3 separate regions of the Homo sapiens genome follow, and regions 2 and 3 are each linked to region 1. The links are contacts of gene promoters, found by promoter capture Hi-C in blood cells and fetal thymus (Javierre and others, 2016). All regions are on one chromosome and are shown on one strand. The core of a region is centred on a gene start or on the middle of the fragment in contact, and the rest is flanking DNA. Distances in the headings are between cores, read along the strand shown.

Evidence for each region. Contacts are between HindIII fragments. The CHiCAGO score rates a contact against its expected background, and 5 or more counts as called.
Region 2: a contact is called between the fragment with the promoter of HEPACAM here and the fragment with the promoter of HYLS1 in region 1, in 4 of 17 cell types (naive CD8 T cells, activated CD4 T cells, non-activated CD4 T cells and 1 more). The highest score is 9.5, in naive CD8 T cells.
Region 3: the fragment with the promoter of PKNOX2 here is called in contact with the fragment with the promoter of HYLS1 in region 1 in 1 of 17 cell types (total B cells); the score reaches 5.0 in total B cells.

The regions. Positions count from the first base shown.
Region 1 is chr11:125,886,151-125,889,605 of GRCh38, reverse strand. It overlaps HYLS1 (HYLS1 centriolar and ciliogenesis associated), which reads right to left and starts at 1,938. Exons shown (of 3, transcript NM_001134793.2): 1 at 1,841-1,938. RefSeq lists silencers at 1,361-1,750, 1,851-1,900, 1,991-2,040 and an enhancer at 2,181-2,230. The HindIII fragment of the contact is 13,277 bases long and covers 1-3,455 here.
Region 2 is chr11:124,934,453-124,937,907 of GRCh38, reverse strand. It overlaps HEPACAM (hepatic and glial cell adhesion molecule), which reads left to right and starts at 1,861. Exons shown (of 7, transcript NM_152722.5): 1 at 1,861-1,986. The coding sequence starts at 1,902. All of the region lies in intron 1 of LOC107984406 (a long non-coding RNA gene), which reads right to left. The HindIII fragment of the contact is 6,598 bases long and covers 1-2,425 here.
Region 3 is chr11:125,162,840-125,166,294 of GRCh38, reverse strand. It overlaps PKNOX2 (PBX/knotted 1 homeobox 2), which reads right to left and starts at 1,544. Exons shown (of 13, transcript NM_001382323.2): 1 at 1,519-1,544. PKNOX2-DT (PKNOX2 divergent transcript) reads left to right here and starts at 1,686. Exons shown (of 3, transcript NR_125759.1): 1 at 1,686-1,954. RefSeq lists a silencer at 1,682-1,831. The HindIII fragment of the contact is 6,114 bases long and covers 1-3,455 here.

The sequences.
Region 1 (3,455 bases), core at 689-3,188:
GCCACCACGCCCGGCTAATTTTTCTTCTATTTTTAGTAGAGACTTGGTTTCACCATGTTGGCCAGGCTGGTTTCAAACTCCCAATCTCAAGTGATCCGCCCGCCTCCGCCTCCCAAAGTGCTTGGGATTACAGGTGTGAGCCACCGCGCCCGGCCCAGTTTGGCATTTTGAATCAGAATTTAAACTGTACCACAACTTCTAAGTCATAATCCACTTCCAGGAATTTATTCCAAGGACATAAATTGGACAAGAATGCAAACATGTATACATACAAGTGACCACTACCATACCATTTTATGATTATGAAGAGACTGGAAACAAATGTACATTAGTAGGGGACTGGTTAAATAATATATGATACAATACAGCCATAGCAACAAACGCCACGCATCCATTAAAAATGGTAATGCGTATCGACACTGACAGAGAAATGTGTTCCCAATTTATTACTGACTCAATAATGTATAATCTGCTTAACTGACGTTCTTTTAAATTAACATACTTTATTATATTTGTAACATGCAATTATTTAAAACACATTTTATAAGGAAATCACATAAATATAAGGTATATATTATGAATATATCTGAAGTAAACCTAAATGTGAACAGTGTTTGATGGTTATCTGTGACTGATGAAATTTCGAGTATTTTCTTTCTTCTTTACACGTACTAAATGTTGCTCGGATTGCTAAAAACATGTACATACTATGTTTGCATTCTTGTCCGATTTATGTCCTTGGAATAAACTCCTGGAATTGGATTATGACTTAGAAGTTATGGTACTACTTGAATTCTGATTTATGTTTTTCTTTTCTCTTTTTTTTTTTTTTTTTTGAGACAAGAGTCTTGCTCGGTCGCCCAGGCTGGAGTGCAGTGGCGCGATCTCGGCTCACTGCAACCTCTCCCTCCCGGGTTCAAGAGATTCTCCTGTCTCGGCCTCCCGAGGAGCTGGGACTACAGGCGCCCGCCACCAAGCCCGGCCAATTTTTGTATTTTTAGTAGAGACGGGGTTTCACCGTATTGGTCGGGCTGGTCTCGAACTCCTGACCTCACGTGATCCGCCCACCTCGGCCTCCCAAAGTGCTGGGGTAACAGGCGTGAGCCACCGCGCCCGGCCTGAATTCTGATTTATAATGCCAAACTGCCCTCTAGAAAAACAGATTATCCCCAGCACACAGGCCATAAAGGTGCTTGCTTTCATTTCTTCACTCTCTCAGCAGCATGGGGTACTGAAAAATCTTACCAATCTAAAAAGATATCTTAATGTTTTTCTTTGCCTGCTTAGTGAGATTGTATACTGTTTAGAATAAAAAAGATTTATTTCCATTTCGGGGTGGACAAACACCTTGGACGGTTCCATGCTGCAGTCCACAAAAGGTGCAGCTAGAAGGCGACAAGACACGCTCCGCCTTTCAACGGCAAAGCTCGCAGTCGCCCCGCCTGGCCGTGGGCGTGGCTTGGACCCAGGTCGCTAGCGGCCTTCGGGACTCCCCTCCAGCCCTGGGGCCGTCCCCGGCCTCCGCCTGGTCCCAGGGGCGCGGCCCAGGAGCTCAGAAAGGCCACCGGGGCAAAGACCGCGGCGGCGGCCAGCGCACACCGTGACCTCCAGGGGCTGCGGCCCGCCGCGCACATCGCCTGTAGCTCACGCTGCCCCGGCCGCCTCCCTCAGGAACGCAGACGTTGGGGACGGCTCGCCAGGCAGGACCTGGAATCCACGGAGGGAAGCTGCCACTCTGCACCGTCCCGACGGTGGGAAAAGGAGCGAGGGCTCCCGCCGCAGTGGGCCGGCAGCCACCAGGTCCCCGCGTCCCTCCGCTTCCGGCCTTCGCCCGGCTTACCCGCGTCGCGGAAGTCCGCTCTCTGCACCGCGTCCTGCCAGTCGCCAGCAGAGCACCGCAGATTCTGTTAGCTTTCGCGTAACTTGCGCAGGCGCACTGCCGGCCCACGCGCCGAGCCTGCGGTTAACCGCCGACCGCTGAGGTTTAAATCCGGAGAGCGAACCGGCACCCTTGGCCCGGTCCGCCCTCCCTCTTATTGGTCCTGAGGGTAAACGTCCTCCAAGTCTGTATCCTGATTGGCGCACATTTTGTCTGGGCCTTCTCCGCCGGCGGGAGCATGCCCGGGATTTCCAATGTGGCCTTAAAAATATCCGAGCCCGCCTAGCTGAGGCGCGCAGGCAGCAGCCGTTGCTGCGACGCCTCTGGTGTACTAAATCTGGAGGGGAGGTTGGGCCCTCGAAGAGAAGGAGAAGACCCTCAAACCTTGGCTAACGGCGACATAGCTGGCTTTTTGGAGAGGCCGCCTAACGGTCTGCCACTTCATTGGAATCAGCCTCCGCCCTTCTCAACTGGCTGCTGCGGGGCCAGTGGTGCCGGGAGACGAGGGCGGGCGCTCAGGGACGGTTCGAACAGTCTGGGGTGAGTCCGCCTGTGCGCTCTAGACGTTTCCTTGGGGCCTGAGAGAGCGGCTGTATGAAACCCTGGCGCACTGAGCTCTTCCTTTCCTCTGCATGGTGTGCAGGGCCCTGGCGTGACCCGTGGCTGCGTCTCCACAGCTCCTCCCACGTTACTCTAACTGTGCTCCAGCCACCGACTGCCTTGCTCCGACATGCACTTGTTTTCTTTTGGAATGTGCCTGTCTCCTTCACATGGTGTTACTCTCAACTTTTTTTTTTTTTTTTTTTTGAGACGGAGTTTCCCTCTTGTTGCCCAGTTGCCCAGGCTGGAGAGTAGTGGCGCGATCTCAGCTCTCTGTAACCTCTGCCTCCCAGGTTCAAGCGATTCTCCTGCCTCAGCCTCCCGAGCAGCTGGGATTACGGGCGAGCACCACCATGCCCGGCTAATTTTGTATTTTTAGTAGAGATGGGGTTTCACCATGTTAGTCAGGTGATTCTACCCCCTCGGCCTCCCAAAGCTCTGGGATTACAGTTGTGAGCCTCTGTGCCCAGCCACTAATTTTTTTTTTAAACCCGATGTTTTAACTCTTTTTGCATCTGTACCTGTAAAAAAAAAAAAAAAAAAAAAAAAAAAAATCTAGTGCTTGGGGATTGCTGAGGATGAGATCTGTAAAAGCAAGAGGAGAGGCCCTCAGGGTTCAATATCCTAGTCAATACCAAGCAAACCTATCTCAACTGGTCTTGAGTCCTGAGCATTGCATTTTCCACCTTAAACAAATAGGTGCTAGTTGTCAAGTTCATCTTACACCATTTCTTAAATCCAGGATTCAGTGGGAGGGGAGAAATGTTTAATCCTTTTCCTCCAAACACTTCGTATTATCTCTTACTCTCCCTCTTTGCCTCAGGGCCTTTGTGCTACCTCTAAGGCACTTTGAATTTGTGGGAGGAAGAAAATGGAAAGAACAAAGGAGGGAAGATGACAGAAGTAGGTTGTGGAGATTTGAGTGACTGCCCCTACATCTGCAATATCATAACACTCCTTTAGTGCAGCGGTCCCA
Region 2 (3,455 bases), core at 612-3,111, 950 kb after region 1:
TGAGTCTCCTAAAGGGCTTCTGGACACCTAGAAGCCCTTGCAAATTCTGTGCAGGTATAAAGAGCCACCTCTGGGGCGGGGAAGTGGGGATATTGAGAACTTAGATCCTTTTAGTCTCCCTCTAGCACATTTTTCTTTCCACAGTGCTTCAGGATAACAAGGGCAGACTTCGGGCTTTCTATTTCCCAAACACTGCATCCTCCTTTTACTCCCATCCATAAGCCTCAAGGCCCAGCCATCACAGGCAAAGAGGCCATTTATCTACACTCCAGAAGGACTCTGTGATCCAGTCCACAGGCTGATCTATGATATGTCAAGGGGTAGATAAAAGAAATTAGAATGCTCTTTTGTCCCTTACAAAGACTGGCTAAGCCTTTCATCTTGCTATGGACTTTGAAATGCTATTTTAAATGTCAGAAGCTGAATATTGACTCTTTTTGTGTACCTGCTATAATAACATTACCTCTTCCAGTGGAAGAAAGGTGCCTTGAGTTGTCTAGGGAAAAGTCATAAACACAGAAATGCAAAAGGAAAAAAGAATCCCCTTTATATATTTCAGAATGTTTTCAGAGAGGTCTGTGAAGTTCAGTGCTTCCCAACTCTTCTCCCTCTGCCGAGGCTCAGAAGGGCTATGTAATAATGCTTCAGTTCTAGAAAGTTGACCTACTCAGGCTTTCTCCAGTATGTAAAAAGAATATTTAGAGAGATAATTGCTGCACTTACAAAACCAAGACCAGGGGTTAGGGATGACCAAGAAGGAAGTTGTGAAGTTTGGTCTCCCAAAAATATAAAGATCCCAGCATGAATGAAAAAAGAAACAAGGCAATTTTTAAAAAGTTTAAAACATCATCTCTGTAACAAAGGATTTGCTAGGTACTCTTCTGTACCAAATCTCCATCAACGCTCCCAACAATTCCCCTCAAGGAAGCTCTTCTTTTCCCCATTTTACAGATGAGAAATTGAAGGCTCAAAGAGGTTGCGAGCCCATCCCAAGATCACAGTTACTAGGCATCCATTCCCTTGGCCGCCCTCATGAAAAGGTGTGAACACATGAATGGGGGTCAGAGTAGAGCTAGAGTGTTTCTCCTCTTCACAGCCTCAAAACAGGAGGGCACAGCTAGGCTGTTAAGCTGGTAACAGAACCCTAGGATGCTGGCTGTTAGGAGATGACCTTCATTTTGCTCAGACATGTTCTAGAAAATTGCCTGAAAGCAGGGGAATGAACAGAGTGGCTTCTGGAAAGAGGTGTCCAGCATCTATGTGATTCTATGATAGAAGAGAAAATTCCAAGCCACGGAAAGACAAGTGTAACAATAATAGAATTCAAGCTGTTTTCCAGTCTTCTTCCTTTGGGATGGAACAGGGGTTTTCCATTTCTTCAGCAGTTGTCTGGAGTCTTTCACTTCCCAGCTTTTTAAAATCTCTTCTCCCTCCCTTTTCAGAGCTTATTGGAGGTCTGTCCTGGCATGTACCCTCCTCCTCAGGGAGAAGGAGTGTTAGGTGGAGACAGGGTAGGTTGGGACACAAAGTCCAGTTAAGTGTGTGTCCCAGCTCAGTGCTCTGAGCCCAGATCCTCATCTCCCTGGGTAGTGAGGCTCAGCACAGACAAGCAACCAACTGCTGGGCTGCCGGTGCCCCCCATGTTGGAACCTGAGTTGGAGATTATCTCCTAAGCAGATACCTGCTTCCAAACTGGGGATGTAGGGCTTGGAAACTAGAAAATGCCAGGTCTGAGGGAGAGGAAAGAACAAGTCCAGCAATACACAGAGCTCTGTGTATTCAGAGGGAAGTTGGCAGGGTTGTGTTCGGGCAGAGAAACTCCGAGTGGTACAAAGGGGACGTGCCCAGAGTGGAGAAATCATGCTAATTGTCTGCACTAGAGCTGGAGAACGCCACCCAAAATGAAGAGAGAAAGGGGAGCCCTGTCCAGAGCCTCCAGGGCCCTGCGCCTTGCTCCTTTTGTCTACCTTCTTCTGATCCAGACAGGTAGGAGGCCAGAGGGTAAGAAAGGGTCTGAAGAAAGGACCCGGGGCTTTTACAGCAGACGGAGGGGAGAGTGGAGGGCCTGAATGCCTTTGGGGCAGGAGTGGGGGAGAGTTCAGCTGCCGTGGGAAACATGTCAGGGAATTCAGGCATTAGCGTTGAACGTATTTCTTTATTTTGTGTGCCTCCCGCGCGGCCCCTACCCCCTTCCCCCAAAAGGCTGCATGACTTTGGAGCTCCCACGGCATTCAGTACATTAGATGGCGGGCACTGGGCCATTTCGTATGGGATGACTTGTTGGCGTGGGCCAGTCTGGCATTCTTTCCAAGGGATTGTGGTGGGGCTTGATGGGTAGGGGTAGGGGAAATTTTCTTTTTATACCTCCCCAGCCCCCGACTCTGGCTTCTCTGTGTGTAAAAGAGTAAGGCAGATGAAAGAAGCTTTGGAGATAATGAGCCTCCTAATGTGGGATAGTCATACCCACCTATCCATAATTCACTCCACTCCATAGCTGCTTACCTCCTCTACCGCCCCCTACCAATCCTTTGAGAAGTGATCTTATTTAAATATACCTATTTATGAGTACATACACATATACACACACACACACACACACAATTACAGAGCACCTAGGAATTCACAACTTAGTGAGGCAAACAGATGTGGAGATCATTTTACTAAACTGCAGGAACTATCATAAGTCAATTATGCAGAGAATGCATAGCAATCAGAGAAAGGTCACCTACCCCATCCAGGAAGCTGGTGCTGGTGGAGGGGGTGTTGGTAGGGTAGGACACAGGGTGTGGGAATATCAGGGGGAGGTTTTCTGGTAGAAGGAATGTGTGCACTGAATTTTAAAAGATGGGGAAAAAAGGTAGGAGTATAAGTGGGTGTTAGGGTTGGGAAATGAGCAAAGGTCAACAGCTTGAAATAACATCAAGTGTTTAGTCAGAGCCCAGCAGTTCATCACTGCTGGAGAGAAAAGCATGAATTGAGTGAGGCAAGAGCTTTGTAAACCAGACTCGTAATCTGGGGATTGAGAGGTGAGGGAATGAGCGGTTTTTAATTTGGGGACTGTCAGGGTTACATGTACCTTTCAGATAGCTTACTCAGTCTGCAGGGGGTCATTCGAGGGGAAACTGGAGGCAAATAAAATAAGAAAGGAAGTTTGTATTCATTTTCTAGGGCTCCTATAACAAAATACCACAAACTGAGTGGCTTAAACAACAGAAATGCATTATCTCAAAGTCGTGGAAGCCAGAAGTGGGAGATCGAGGTGTCAGCAGGGCCATGCTCTCTCTGAAGCTTCTAGGGAGGGCTCTGCCTTAGGGTTCTCTCCTAGCTTCTGGTAATTCCTTGACTTGTGGCAGCATCACTCCAGTCTTGGTATGGCATTCCCCGTGTTTGCATGTCTATGTCCACATTTCCCCTTTTTATAAGGACACATACTAGATTAGGTCCATCCTACTCCA
Region 3 (3,455 bases), core at 295-2,794, 720 kb after region 1:
TTTCACACGCGGAGCTGCAGGACCCCTCGTGCTACCCTCCCCAAATTCCAATAGCTTCCACCACAAGAAAAAGCTGTGATCCTGTTACTGAATCCTAAAAACGCCACCCGTTCCTCCAGCCCCCAACTCCGACCTCCAGCCCTCTGCTCTGGCCGGCGTGTAAACTACTTATCGGCCCCTCGATCCCGATTCCGTAAACAGTCTGGATCCTATAAACCGAACTCTAGACTGGTCCTAAAACCCAGCCCTAATTCAGGCCGATCCACAAGCCCCTACCCCTCAATTCCCAACCCGAGTCTCCCCACCGCGCGGAAACCCCCGGCTCCCCCGTGAAGAGCCCCGGGAAAGGACGGCCCATTTCGCTCGTTTCTTCCTGGGGATCGGGAGCCAGGAAAGCCCGTCTCCTAACCCGAAAGAAATGCAAACTTTGAGCGGCAGATTCGGGATCCTGCGCCATCCCCCTCAGCTCTCCGCTCTCGATCGCTTTCAGTTCCCTCTTTTACGAACTCATCCCCTAGTTCTCGAGCCAGAAGGGCTCCCGATTCCCAAGCCTCGCGCGGGCCCCTACGCCCGCCTCACCAAAGATCCCCAGCAATCATGGAAAGCCGGTGACCCTACACATTCTCGCTCCTCCCTGGGTGAGGGTCCGTGCGTGTAGCCCCTCGGATCCTGGCTTCCCGGGCCCCGCCGGTGTTCCCCTGTCTCCACTGATCCGTCTGCAAACCCTCATTCGCCCTGCCTCCCCAGGCCGCGGCCGCGGCTCCTCGACTCCTCCGGTCACCTGGCCCCAGCCTGGGACCGCTCCCGCCTCCAGCCGCTGGAAAGCATCTCCAGGCTGGTGGCGCGGAGTAAGCGCCGGCCCCAAGGACGCCCGAAGCCGGGAGAAAGAGAACCTGGAGCCTGCCCGCGGTTCCCAGCCTCTCCCCGCGGAGCGCCCGGCCGGGAGCCTTCTGCACCCGGGCTCGGGCCGGCGTGCCTGTTCCTATTCTCGGGTCCCCTGGCGCTCCTGGCGCACAGCTCCCCGCCCGCCCGCTACGGGGTTGGGCCCGCGGCGATTCGAGTCCGCAGCCCGGCTCCTTGCACCCGAGGACAATGCGCGGCCGGCCACGGGCCCAAGCGCGGCGAGGCGGCGGCGGCGGCGGCGGCGGGGCTGAGCGCTGGCCGGGCAGGGGAGCGGGCGGCCCGCGGGGCTCTCGCAGCCTCCGTGCCCGGCCTCGCCGCCCCTCGCGCTGCTCCGCTCCGCGCTCTCCCGGCGCTTCCCCAGCTTCTCTCTGCACGCTCCCGCCGTCCCTCGCTGCTCCCTGCCTCCCTCCTCCCTGCTGCCTCCCTCTCTCTCCTCCCTGCTGCCTCCCTCTCTCCCTCTCTCCTCCTTGCCCTGTCGCAATGAATAATACTCTGGCTTGGGGACTGGAATAAAACACACGCGCTCTGAGGCAGCCGCCCGCAGCAGCAGCCGCCGCCGCGCCGCCGCCGCCGCCTGCAAAAGCGTCTCTGACATGGAAATGAATGACAGCTTACCTGATGCCAATCTTCATCAGACTGACACCGGCGTGACAACACAGCCTATACTTCCCAGCACTGCTCGGGACGTCAGCGGCACAGGGACCCGCCCCCCGGACCCCCCCTTCACACACCTCCCCTCTCCCCACTCCCCCTTTTCTCCCCACCCCCCATCACCCCCACCCACTCCCGGCCCGGCCGCTGCCAAGTCGGAGGAGCCGCTGGAGTGTCTCCCTCTACCGGAGGCTCTCGGGCGGCGGGCGCGGGCCTGCTCCTGCGGCAGGGAGGCGGGCGGCCTGGAGAAGCGGCTCCGCTCGCGAGGAGCCTCGGATGGGGAGTGCGGTGGACCCCCAGGAACTCTGGAGCACCCTCCCGCCCCCAAGCCAAGTCCTCCTTAGCGAACAACCGGGGCCGAGTTCCAAGATATCACCGGTGCTGAGGGGACCGAGATGAGGTGAGATTTTCTGTGGACCCCAAGAGAACTCCCCAGAAATGATGAAACTTAAAACGGGCAAGAAATCCTTCCTTCCACCAGCACTCCCCCTCCCCCTTTTCCTGCCTGGCTGGCCTCATTTTTATGATTGCATTTGAATAATTCTCATTACCCTGGCCCCAGAAAAGGTGTTCAGATGACACTCTGGTTAGTTATTCCTGGTCTCAAGAGCTTTTTCTGCTGTGGGCTTCCCGGGGTGTCTGGTTCAAGGTGGGGCAGAGGGAGAGAGGAAAGAGTGGATAGGCTTTGTCAGTAAAGCACTTCTTTGCAAATGTCAGGCAAGCCTGTTCTAAGCCACTGCTATTTTCATTCTAATAAAAAGTCCTCAAGAAACTCAGTGAGTTCCCAGAGTTCTGGGGGCTGGGGTGCAGTCATATAAAGGGAAAGACCAGCTGGGCTGTTTCAGCCTGGGCCTGCTGGGGTGGCTTCATCTACATCAGGGAGGAAATGGGCTCCTTACATGCCCTCTACAGTGGAAGACAAAAGCAGGCATGTGTAGACCCACAAGCGCCTCCATTCACTCAGCAGAGATCACAGTCCTACTAAGAGCCACACACAGGAGCACACTTGCTTGCTTCCTCAACTTAGCACATGGCCCTCCGCATAAAGGGACAAGAGAACCCCTTCTGCCTCTGGAAGTTTGCTTCTTGCTCCCCATAGAGGAGCCCTTTCAGCCAGTCAGGCAGCCATTGATCCTCTGACCCCAGGCCAGGCAGGGGGCCTGGAAGAAGCCCAGACAAAGACACCGACAAAAGCGGGAAAGCAGAAAGTGAAACCCAGCCTCTGGGTTTTCAGTAAAGAATCTGACCCAAGAAGTTGAAGGCTGCCCCTGAGCTCTTCTCAGGCCTCTGGGTCGCCACTCACCCGCCTCCGTCATGGGCAAGGATGAGAGCTGTTAGCATTGCCTGGCTCAGGGGAGGCAATTGAGACCCTTCTTATATCACATCCCAGATACACACACTACTGTTTGTCCAGATCCTCCCAATACCCTCAAATCCACCCACCAACGTTGCTTGTGGGAGAAACTCTTCAGTGGTAGCCCCCATTATAGACAGATTAGAATCCTCTCACCTTCACATAGAACCTTCAAAAACTTCACTAGGTGGATTTATGTCACCCTAGCCTCTGATCTGCAGTCAGAGTCTCTGGCTGCTGACAGCATAATCGCTATTATATATTATACATTGTATAATAATATAATAATAATGAATGCACTTGCCCTTTTTATGTGGTACAGAAGCGGCCAGATTCTCCAACCCAGAGGCTGGAGGTCAGGCTGCCATAAACTCTCAGAGGGAAGCCCTCTTCAGATAAGGGAGGGGGAGGGGAGATCCATTTGTCTCTGCCCAGGACCCCTGGAGGGAGGAGTTTCTCTCTTTCCCATGGCTCCCAGTGAGTTGCTGCAGCCTGCAGAGTCAGAGGGGAAAATCAGGCTGAATTCACCCCATCAGAGAGGTGTCAG